Regions from separate parts of the Homo sapiens genome. Here region 2 is linked to region 1. The links are contacts of gene promoters, found by promoter capture Hi-C in blood cells and fetal thymus (Javierre and others, 2016). All regions are on one chromosome and are shown on one strand. Each heading gives the region's core, a stretch centred on a gene start or on the middle of the fragment in contact. The rest is flanking DNA. Distances are from core to core; before and after follow the strand shown. Region 1 has its middle 4.3 kb from the start of TEKTL1. Region 2 holds the start of OR10H4 (olfactory receptor family 10 subfamily H member 4).

Region 1 (6,038 bases), core at 2,504-5,003:
CTCTCCCAGCCTGGGGCTTCCCACCATCTCCTGACACCTCCACCAGAAAAGCGACCTCATTTCTCAAAGACAAAACAGATTCTAGGTCATATCCCCCTGGAATGAGAGACCAATTGATGTGATTATCTCCAAGAGAAAGAGGGGCACCTACTAAAAGTAGAACCTGGTGTCCCAGAAGGGAAGACATCGGGGAACCTAAAAAGGGGTCTCTGATAATTACCTGCCAAGATTTCACAGCGAAGGGCATCTCCATGTAATGCCAAAAAAAAAAAAAAGAAAGAAAAGAAAAGAAAAAAGGCTAGAAGTTTTAGAAGGTGCTCCTTCTTCATCCATTCTGCAATTTCACTCGATTTCGCCCAAAAGCAGAATTCTGCTCCCTACATTGCATGAATCAGTATATAGAACAGGTGGCCCCAGCAAAGTTGCAAAAAGGAATTTCTATAAAGTGTTCTTTATTATAAAAATCAAGAGAGCTGCCAGGTGTGGTGGTTCATGCCTGTAATCCTAGCACTTTGGGAGGCCAAGCCGGGTGGATTGCCTGAGCTCAGGAGCTCGAGACCAACCTGGGCAACATGGAGAAACCCCATCTCTATTAAAATACAAAAAATTAGCTGGGCGTGGTGGTGGGCCCCTGTAGTCCCAGCTACTCAGCAGGCTGAGGCAGGAGAATTGCTTGAACCCAGGAGGAGGAGGTTGCAGTGAGCCAAGATCACACCACTGCACTCCAGCGTGAGCAACAGAGCAAGACTCTGTCTCTAAAAAAATTAATAATGCATAAATAAAATAAATAAAAATCAGAGAGCTAATTTCACAAAGAAATATAACTCCCTATTGGCCTGAGTTAGAAGTATTTGGGCTTCAGTATATTGGGAGAAGGGAAATATGTATAGTTGTGTATATGCATGCACACATACACACACACACACAGAGGCATGGTGGGGGAATGAATGTGGAAATGGTTAGAGTGAAATCAAGATCAAGTTCAGAATAAGTATCTCTGGATAGTAAAACAAAAAATAAGGCTGGCCATGGTGGCTTGTGGCCATAATCCCAGCACTTTGAGAGGGTGAGGCAGGAGGATGGCTTGAAGCCAGGAGTTCAAGACCCAGACTGGGCAACATAGCAAGACCTCACCTCTACAAAAAAAAAAAAAAGTCAATTGTGATGGCATGCACCTGTAGTTCCAGCTATTCAGGAGGCTGAAGCAAGAGATCTCTTGAGACCAGGAGTTGGAGGCTTTAGTGAGCCAAGATTGTGCCACTTCATTTCAGCCTGGGTGACAGAGTGAGACTCTGTCTCCAGAAAAAAAAAAAAGATTCTTATTCATTTCATTATGTTTCCCATATTTTATACATTTTATACAAGGTGCATACCTTGCTTTCATAGCTTATTTGTTAGTTTAAGAGAGGTATTTAGGCTTGGAGAGTACTGAAAAATTTTCCTAGTCCTCGGTCTTGTGTACATAATGTTTCTGTAGATTTTTTGAACATCACTGTTTCTGTTCAGACACACGCAGGTGAATCACTTGGAAAATGAGAGCTAATCCCAGCCCAGCAATGAATGGTTCCTTCCAGACAGGCCAGGCACAGTTGCTCACATCTGAAACCCCAGAGCTTTGGTAGGCCAAGGCGGGAGGATTGTTTGAGTCCAGGAGTTTGAGACTAGCCTGGGCAACATAGCAAGATCGTGTCTCTACAAAAACATTTTTAAATTAGCCAGGCATGGTAGCACATGCCCATAGGGCCAGCTACCCAGGAGGCTGAGGCAGGAGGATTGTTTAAGCCCAGGAGTTCAAAGTTGCAGTGAGCCATGATGGTACCACTGTACTCTACTCTGGGTGACAAAGCAAGACCCTGTCTCAAAAAAAAAAAAAAAAAAGCAGGGCACGGTGGCGGTCAGGAGTTCACGAATAGCCTGGCCAACAATGGTGAACAAATTGTTCTACTAAAAATACAAAAAATTAGCTGGGCGTGGTGGTGGGCATCTGTAATCCCAGCTACTCAGAAGGCTGAGGCAGGAGAATCACTTGAACCTGGGAGGCGTAGGTTGCAGTGAACCGAGATCGCGCCACTGCACTCCAGCCTGGGCAACAAGAGTGAAACTCCTTCTCACAAAAACAAAAAAACAAAAAAACCAGATAACTCACCTGTTCTTCAAATACATATCAGGCTAGAGAAGTGTCCAAAATGGGTCATCAAAGCCAGGAGCTAGCAGTGAGTTTTTGGAAGTTGATATAGAGAATGGAAACTGGGATTGGGAGATGGAAATGAGAAGTTGGTCTGATTAAGCAATGGTCTGCACCAATTTCAATGCTTAGATAATAGTATCATATACTAGCAGCGTGTTGGTGTCAGCGTGTTAAACTAATAAAAAGCCAGAATGTAACAGCCTGCATAGCCCTAATGCATTTCACCAGAGAGCCATGTGGAAGCCAAAATCCTCACATGCAGATCTGGCATGAGGAAGCTTCCTAAGCGTCTCTCAGGTAGCTTGGTACAAGTTCTGCCCAACAGAGGTGCTTCATACACCAGGCAGCAAGCCTACCCAAATGAGATCCCCTGGTTGGGAAGGTGGACGTACTTCATGAACAAAGCAAAGGTAGATGGTTGTGTGCAGGTCATCTCACATGAGGTGTCTCCCTGGTTCTTTGTGAAACCCTCTCTGGACCTCTTCTGGTTTTGAAATAGCTCATTCATGGATTCATTCTATTAATAAAAGTCAAAAGTAAACACTTACATAATGCTTACTAGGTGTCAGCCATGGTGCTAAGCACTTCATTCATATTAACTCATTGTCTCCATGCCACAATCCTATTACCTGAGTTGACAGATGGGGCAACGCAGGCACAGAGATGTTAAGTGAATTGCTCGAGATCACGTAGACAGCAAGTGGCAGAATCATAATTTGAATCCTAGTTCATCTGGATCCAGAATACAGACCATAATATCCTCCTGATGCTCATGAAAATTTGTTGAACCAGATACCACTGGTCCCAGCAGCAAATGACTGTGCTAACCCCATATTCCCAAGCCTCCATCGCCAAAGGTTATCTGGCCCCATTTCTTGCTAGTGGCCCTAAAGAACATAACGGCGGGTCTCCAGGATGGCTGGCGTGGGAGTCGCTGGTTGCCCATCTTATTCCCCCCACCCCCCATTACTGAATGATCCCTTGATTACAAACCCAGGGTCATTCATTCTTTCTTGACTGTCGCACCTCTCATTCACTCAATACGAAAATATTTGGACAGGCACGGTGGCTCATGCCTGTAATCCCAGCACCTTTGTAGGCCGAGGCAGGAGAATTACTTAAGGCCAGGAGACCAAGACCAGCCAGGGAAAGATAGCAAGACCCTGTCTCTACAAAAAAAAAAAAAGAAAAAGAAAAGAAAAGAAAATTTAAAAATAAGCTATGCATGGTGGCACATGCCCGTAGTCCTAGATACTTAGGAGGCTGAGAGTGAGAGGATCCCTTGAGTCCAGGAGGTTGAGGCTGCAGTGAGCCATGATCGTGCTACTGCACTCCAGCCTGGGTGACAGAGTGTGATCCTGTCTGAAAAAATAAAATAAAATAAAAATAAAACATGTATTGATTCTTCCACTTACGTATTCCTCTAATAAGTACGTATTGAGTGCTTGCCATGAGCCACTATCTGTGCTGGGTGCTCGGTAGTGGAATACAATGGTAAATAGGAGAGGCGAGGTCAATGCCCTCATGAAGCTCACAAGTGAAAAACAAATGTCCATCATTGGTCAGATGGATAAACAAAGTTATGGTATATAAATGCAATGGAATATGATTCAGCCATGAAAAGGACAGAAGCACTGATCCGTGCTACAACATGGACAAATCTGGAAAACACGATGCTGAGTGAGAGAAACCAGATACAAAAGGCCACATAGTGTGAGACTCCATTGACATGAAATGTCCAGAACAGGCAAATCTACAGAGACAGGGAGCAGATGAGTGGTTACCAGGAGCTGAGGGGACAGGGGAATGAGAGTGAGCGCTCGTGGGGATGAGGTTTTATTTGGGGATTGGTGAAGTGTTCTAGAATTCGATACAAGTGGTGATTGCACCACACTGTGAAGGTGTTAATGCCTCTGAATTGTGCACCTTAAAATCATTCATTGTATTTATGAAAATTTCATCTCACAAAAAAAAATCAAGTAAGATGATCATAGCATGTGATTGATTCCATCCGTTTCTTTATCCTATGTGTATTAAGGACCCACTATGTGCTATGAACTATACAGACACTGAGGATACAAGACTAGCATGCTTCCTGTTCTAGAGGCTCTTAGAGTCAATCATCAGAGAAATGCCAATTAAAATCACAATGAGAGGCCGGGCACGGTGGCTCATACCTGTGGTCCCAGCACTTTGTGGGGGCGAGACGGGTGGATCATCTGAGGTCAGGACTTTGAGACCAGCCTGGCTAACATGGTGAAACCCCATTTCTACTAAAAATACAAAAATTAGCCGGGTGTGGTGACACGCACCTGTAATCCCAGCTACCCGGGAGGCTGAGGCAGAAGAATCGCTTGAACCCAGGAAGCAGAGGTTGCAGTGAGTCGAGATCATGCCACTGCACTCCAGCTTGGGAAACAAGATCAAAAGTCTGCCCCCCCCCCAAAAAAAAACCAACCACACACACACAATGAGTCTGGGTGCAGTGGCTCAGGCTTATAATCTCACCATTTTGGGAGGCTGAGGTGGGAGGACTGCTTGAGCCCAGGAGTCTGAGACCAGCCTGGGCAATGTTAGCAAGACTCTGTCTTTACACAAAATTTAAAAATTAGCCAAGTGTGGTGGCGTGCGCCTATAGTCCTCGCTTTTTGGGAGACTGAGGCAGAAGGATGGCTTGATATCAGGAGTTGGAGGCTGCAGTGAACCATGATCCCCCCACTGCACTCCAGCCTGGGCCACAAAGTGGGGCTCAGTCTCTTTAGAAAAAGAGAGATATATATATACAGAATATCTATTATTTTAAAAGTAAAAAGAAAAAAAAACAGAGGTTGGCAAGGATGCAGAGAAAAGGGAAAGCTTATACACTGTTGGTGGGGATGCAAATTAGTACAACCTCTAGGGAAACAGATGGCAATTTCTCAAAGAACTAAAAATAGAACTGCCCTTTGATCCAGCAATCCCACTGCTGAGTATATACCTAAAGGAAGAGAAATCATTATATTAAAAAGACATCCACACTTACATGTTTATGGCAGCACTATTCACTATAGCAAAGTTATGGAATCAACTTATGTGTCCATTAGCAGATGATTGGATGTTAAAATATGGTATACAAGCTGGGTGCGGTGATTTCCCCCTGTAATCTCAGCATTTTGGGAGGTCAAGGAAGTCGAATTGCTTGAGTCCAAGAGTTTGAAACCAACCTGGGTAACATGGCAAAAACCCCACCTCCACTAAAAAAACAAAAATAATTCGCGTTTTTTTTTTTTTTACAGGCAGGCACCTGTAATTTCAGCTATTCAGGAGGCCAAGGTGATGGAATCAGCTGAGCCTGGGAGGCAGAGGTTGCAGTGAGCCGAGATCATGCCACTGCACTTCAGCCTGGGAAATTGGAGTGAGATCTTGTCTCAAATATATAAACATATATATATAAAATATACATATATGCTATCTACACAGATCACATAGATATGCTATCTAGATAGCATATATATATCGGATACAAATGCCCTATAAATAGCATATCTATCATATATCTAGATAGCATATATATATCACATAGATATGCTATCTAGACAGCATATATATAGCATATCTATACCAAATACATATGCCCTATATATAGCATATCTATCACATAGATATGCTATCTAAATAGCATATATATCACATAGATATCTATATATCTATAAATATCATATATATGCTCTCTAGATAACATATATATCACATAGATATCCTATCTACATGGCACATATATATAGCATATATGTCACATGTATGTGCTCTATATATAGCAGATATATATCACATATATATGCCGTGGAATACTTAGCCATAAAAAACAGTG
Region 2 (6,038 bases), core at 2,563-5,062, 940 kb after region 1:
TTTAGAGTGCTCAGTAATTTGGGTGTGTAAAGGAATCCTGAGACATGTTTCTTTATATTTTTCTTTATATTTTGTGCATTTGAAATTTTGCTTAGGAAGTCTTTCCTCGTGCCTAGATTACAAAGTTATTATCCTACACTTTCTCCTATTAAATGTAAAGATAATGGCAAAGAGTGCAACTACTTTTGCACCAACCTAATAGTTTGTGTTGCTGTTGGGAATCTTCCCCTTCTCTGTATTCAACTTCTATTTCTTGAATGCTTGTTACTGGTGTGACACTAGGAGGATCACTGGGATTTTTGCCAGCTGACCTTGCCTTCTGCATCACTGGGCTCTGTTATTGTTCCAATAGATTATACCATCATTCTTTTATCTTTTATATGTAGATGATCACGTCTCTTCGCTTCCAGTCCTCAGATACCTTAGATACTTTGTTTCTTTTTCTTGCCTTGTAACATCACTCACGACTTTCAGCTCCATGTTAAAGAACAGCAGAGTTAGTGAGTATCCTTGGCTTTTTCTTGATCCTAAAATAATGCATCAAAAAGTTTCTTCATTTAGTGTATGTAGTATTTGCTAATTTTGTGCTATATATTCTATATTTAGATAAGAAAATCTCCTTGAATTTTGTGTTGTGAAGTGTTCTTTAAAAATCATAAATAGGAGTAGAGTTTAAGAAAAACATATTTATGCCTTTATTGAAATAATCATGATTTTTCTTTTTTAATCAACTCCTGTGATAAATCATATGATAGGTTTTCTGATGTTAGCCATCCTTGTCATTTGTGAAATAAATCTATACCACTTTATTATGGTAAACCATTTTTAATATACCATTAAATTTGACTAGGTTATGGTTTTATTCTGGAATTTAAAATCTGCATGGATAGGTGAAGTAGGCCTATAGTTGTCTCTTTTTCTTTTTTTTTTCTTTCTTTTTATTTTTTGAGACAGAATTTTGCTCTTGTTGCCCAGGCTGGAGTGCAATGGTGCAATCTCAGCTCACCACAACCTCCACCTCCCGGGTTGAAGTGATTCTCCTGCTTCAGCCTCCCAAGTAGCTAGGATTACAGGCATGCACCACCACACCTGGCTAATTTTGTATTGTTAGTACAGATGGGGTTTCTCCATGTTTTTCAGGCTGGTCACGAACTCCCGTGATCCACCCGCCTCAGCCTCCCAAAGTGCTGGGATTACAGGCGTGAGCCACCACCCCTGGCCAATTTGTCTCTTTTTTCAGCAAATATTCTTACCTGATTTTAGACTGAGATTGCATTAACCTGCTGAGATGTGCTGGTCAGATTTCCTAACACTTTTCTATGTTTTTGAAGCTCATGTATAAGATACTAACTGTTTCTTAACATAATAATAATTGCTAAACTTTAATAAAACCCACTGGGGCAAAGATTTTAGAGAAAGACCATCTTTGACTACCATTTCAATTTATTTAAAGCTTATTTGAGCATACAAGGTCCCCATTTTTCTTGAACCAGTTTTAGAATTTTATATTTTTCTGAGTATTTGGTCATTTCATCTACAAAGTAAATTTATTATTTTTTAAAACTTATTAATTTAAACATATCCATTTTCTCTGTAATTATTTACCATTTTTAATTTGGAGTTTTGTTATTGGCACCTTCTCCTTGTTTCCCTCTATCTTCTCAATCTTTTCTCATGCGTGATTTTGGCTTTATTAAGCATGAACTTTTCTTGAGGCAGTTTCTTGATAAATCTATTTAGTGCCATGTATTTCCCTCAAAGTACTATTTTAGGTTAAAATGTTGACATTCAATATTTGAATAATCATTTAATTCTAAAGCTTTCTTAATTTTTATAATTTACTGTTGAACCTGAAGATTATTCAATTATATAGTTAGCTTCCAAGCATATGAGATTTGAAAAGCTATTTCTTCTCTATTAATTTTTAATGTTAATGCATTATCATTTAAATAACATTTATACTTTGGAATTAAAGAATTTTTTATATCTTAATGAAATGTCAGTTTTTGTAAAAGTATCCATGTGCTTGAAAAAATATTTATTCTCTGGTGAAGAGTCTAATATATAATAGCTAATATTTATTAATTGCATTGTAATTATTAATTGCATTGCAATTAATAATTAATAAATTACATTTCTGAACTCTGTTAAACTTTCTAACTATAATATCTATCTGTCATTGATTTAGTTATTATTCCAGGATTATTATCCTTAATATTCCAGGATATATAGTAATGTAGACATTATATTTATGCTGATTGCTATAATGTTCTTTTAAATGGTATGAATATTATTCTCTATCCTTTAGCGTGTGTGATTTCAAAATTTTAGCATGCATCAAGAAACAACATTTTTCTTCACAGCCGAAATAACCAGATTGCACTTTTAAAAAATAATTAGTTGGGCATGGTGGCTCATGCCTGTAATCCCAGCACTTTGGGAGGATGACATAGGAAGATCACTTGAGGCCAGGAGTTAGAGACTAGTTTGGGCAAGAATGTGAGGCCCAGTCTCTATGGAAAAAATTTTTTTTTAATTAGACAGGTGAGGTGGCACACAACTGTAGTCCCAGCTATTTAGGAGGCTGAGGCAGAGGATTGCTTGAGCCCAGGAGTTCCGGGATGCAGTGAATCACGATCCTACTCTAACCTGGGGGACAGAGCAAGACCTGTCTCTAAATAATTAGTAATTAGATCAATAATAATGCTTTAATATTACTCATACCTAATCATTCATTCATACTATAATCAAAATGTTCTCCATTGCCTTAAAAATACTTACAGCTGGTTATGGAAATGAAGATTCAACTGGTCCCCTATGTTGCATCCAGTTGCTATGTCCCCGAATCTCTCTTATCTTTTGGATGAGCCTTTATCAATGAGACCAGACCAATTGTTCTGTGGAATTATCCACCTTCTGAATTTTTCTGAAAGCTTCCTCACATTGTCATTTAGCTTATTCCTCCATCTTCTGTACAATGATTATTCTTTTTGACTAGTGGGCATCTTTTCAATCTAGTACTTGCAGTCTTTTAATATTATCCCATTACTTAGTGAAGGTTTCATTTCACACTGGTACAAGATATCCAAGGCTTTCTTCCATGTCCAGATCACAGATTTGCCATGTCTCAAGGAACTCTGGTTCCCTGCAGTGGCATATGGTATTAAAGACATTGTGATCACTGTTTCCTTAGATTCCACCTTTTATTATTATTAAGATTGCAACCTCAGCTTTTATTTGGTGCATATTTGTCTGACATGTATGTATCCAGCCATTTCTTTTCAAATTTTCTGTTCAATTTTTTTAGAATAGTAAATGCACCATTTGAAATTAGATGGCATAAATGAGTACCAATAAAACAGTATTAAAATAAATGTAAATGGGTTAAATAAGCAACTAAAAGACAAAGACTCCCAGGGAAAAAAGATTTAAACCCCAAGATCAAAATACATGTTTTCTAGAACTGGCACATTATCAAGAGAACCTGACCCTGATCATCTATGCTGGTCTCTAATGGCTCCAAGTATTGAACCTTTTCTTTATGTTAGTCAGTGTTAATAGAAACCCAATTAGTAGCCAAAATCTGACTTGATCATCTAATATAGTGATCTCATTTGATCTTTGTCACATTGCTGAATGTTAAGAACTATTATTATTTATTCCATTTTACAGATGAGGAAAGTGAGACCCAGAAAATTCTGCTGGTTGTTGAATAGCATAGAGCTGTTGAGTTGCCATTTGGTCTGTGATAGAGTCTATGTTTTAACCACTGTCACTTAATTTTGTTTCTGATCTCACCAGATACAGTATCCATGCCTAGTCAGAACTATAGCATCATATCTGAATTTAACCTCTTTGGCTTCTCAGCCTTCCCCCAGCACCTCCTGCCCATCTTGTTCCTGCTGTACCTCCTGATGTTCCTGTTCACATTGCTGGGCAACCTTCTCATCATGGCCACAATCTGGATTGAACACAGACTCCACACACCCATGTACCTCTTCTTGTGCACCCTCTCCGTCTCTGAGATTCTGTTCACTGTTGCCATCACCCCTCGCATGCTGGCTGATCTGCTTTCCACCCATCATTCCATCACCTTTGTGGCTTGTGCCAACCAGATGTTCTTCTCCTTCATGTTTGGCTTCACTCACTCCTTCCTTCTCCTGGTCATGGGCTATGATCGCTATGTGGCCATCTGCCACCCACTGCGTTACAATGTGCTCATGAGCCCCCGTGACTGTGCCCATCTTGTGGCCTGTACCTGGGCTGGTGGCTCAGTCATGGGGATGATGGTGACAACGATAGTTTTCCACCTCACTTTCTGTGGGTCTAATGTGATCCACCATTTTTTCTGTCATGTGCTTTCCCTCTTGAAGTTGGCCTGTGAAAACAAGACATCATCTGTCATCATGGGTGTGATGCTGGTGTGTGTCACAGCCCTGATAGGCTGTTTATTCCTCATCATCCTCTCCTATGTCTTCATTGTGGCTGCCATCTTGAGGATTCCCTCTGCCGAAGGCCGGCACAAGACATTTTCTACGTGTGTATCCCACCTCACTGTGGTGGTCACGCACTATAGTTTTGCCTCCTTTATCTACCTCAAGCCCAAGGGCCTCCATTCTATGTACAGTGACGCCTTGATGGCCACCACCTATACTGTCTTCACCCCCTTCCTTAGCCCAATCATTTTCAGCCTAAGGAACAAGGAGCTGAAGAATGCCATAAATAAAAACTTTTACAGAAAATTCTGTCCTCCAAGTTCCTGAGCGCCAGTTTGGTGGTGATGAAATATAATAATGTGTATCTCCATAGGGCTGTTGTAAGTGTTCAGGTATGTGAAAATATGTGTTTGATACATACTAGCTATTGTTTTCCCTTCCCTTTTTGCTTAAGCTCAAGTGATCATAATCTTTTCTTTATGAGCCATTATGATGACCTTTATCCCATTATCTGTGCCTAGAAATGTGTTTTCTGTCCACGGACAGGTGGGGATCATCACGTGGATGTGTCTGGGCACTTATGAACACAGTTCTTCTTGAATGGACAGGCAAAAAAGATTTTATTTTCCCCTAGTGTAAGAAAAAGCAAGAATAACATGATAGTCATAAATGCCACCCAGCACTGAGCTTTTTCTATGTATTGGCACTGTGTCCAGTGTTTTATAAATATTATCCTTTTAATTAGAAGAAATGTACAAAGGAAAATAAACTATTTGCCTCAGATAAACTGGTTTCTTATTTAAAGTTCCTCACTGTCTTTGGGAGAGATATACCCTAAGTTTGTGTGTGGATATTAATATGTTGAGTTGAATGAAAGATGTTAGAATGCAAACGTTGAGAGAGGGCAAGAAGGAGATATATATATATATACACATACATATATACACACACACATATATATATACATATATATGTATACATATATATATACATACATATGTATACATATATACATATATATATATACATACATATGTATACATATATACATATATATGTATACATATATATGTATACATATATACAGAGACAGAGACAGAAGAAAGAGAGAGAGATACAGAGACAGAAGAAAGAGCAAAAGACAGAGAGAGAGAGAGGGAGAGAGAGAAAGCAGGTGTCAAGTAAAAAGAGAGTTCTTTAAATTTTTTATCTGTACAGGAAATGTAATAACTAAGAATTTGGGGCAAAATAGAAAAAAGGAGGTTGGTAATAGGGCTTTAATATGTCCTAATAATAGGGCTAATAAGGTAGCCTAATAAGATAGCCACGTGTCTCATCCCAGCGTTTTTGACACAGTTGCTCTGCAGTCTCAATGTGTCATTCTAAGATATGTACTTCCTTGCCTCCAATGGATGTATCAATTTTCTGGTTTTCTGTTTCTGGCCATTGGTTCCACCAGCTGAGGAATGAATATTATTTTTACAGTGTGACTGCTCTTCTAATGCTACTCATAGTGCCATTCACCTGTGCTTCCTGCTGCTGCTGGAATGTGAAGGTCAACATGGAAAGAGATTTCATTCTAGGAAAGCAGAGATCATGGCC

The links. Contacts are between HindIII fragments. The CHiCAGO score rates a contact against its expected background, and 5 or more counts as called.
Region 2: a contact is called between the fragment with the promoter of OR10H4 here and a fragment that was not itself captured in region 1, in 1 of 17 cell types (M2 macrophages). The highest score is 5.9, in M2 macrophages.

Annotation. Positions count from the first base shown.
Region 1 is chr19:15,003,400-15,009,437 of GRCh38, forward strand. It overlaps a transcript of SLC1A6 not described here. Among named protein-coding and RNA genes, the nearest start is that of TEKTL1, 4.3 kb to the right of the region's middle. The HindIII fragment of the contact is 2,578 bases long and covers 2,465-5,042 here.
Region 2 is chr19:15,945,196-15,951,233 of GRCh38, forward strand. It overlaps OR10H4 (olfactory receptor family 10 subfamily H member 4), which reads left to right and starts at 3,813. Exons shown (of 1, transcript NM_001004465.1): 1 at 3,813-4,763. The coding sequence starts at 3,813. The coding sequence ends at 4,763. The HindIII fragment of the contact is 16,967 bases long and covers 2,932-6,038 here.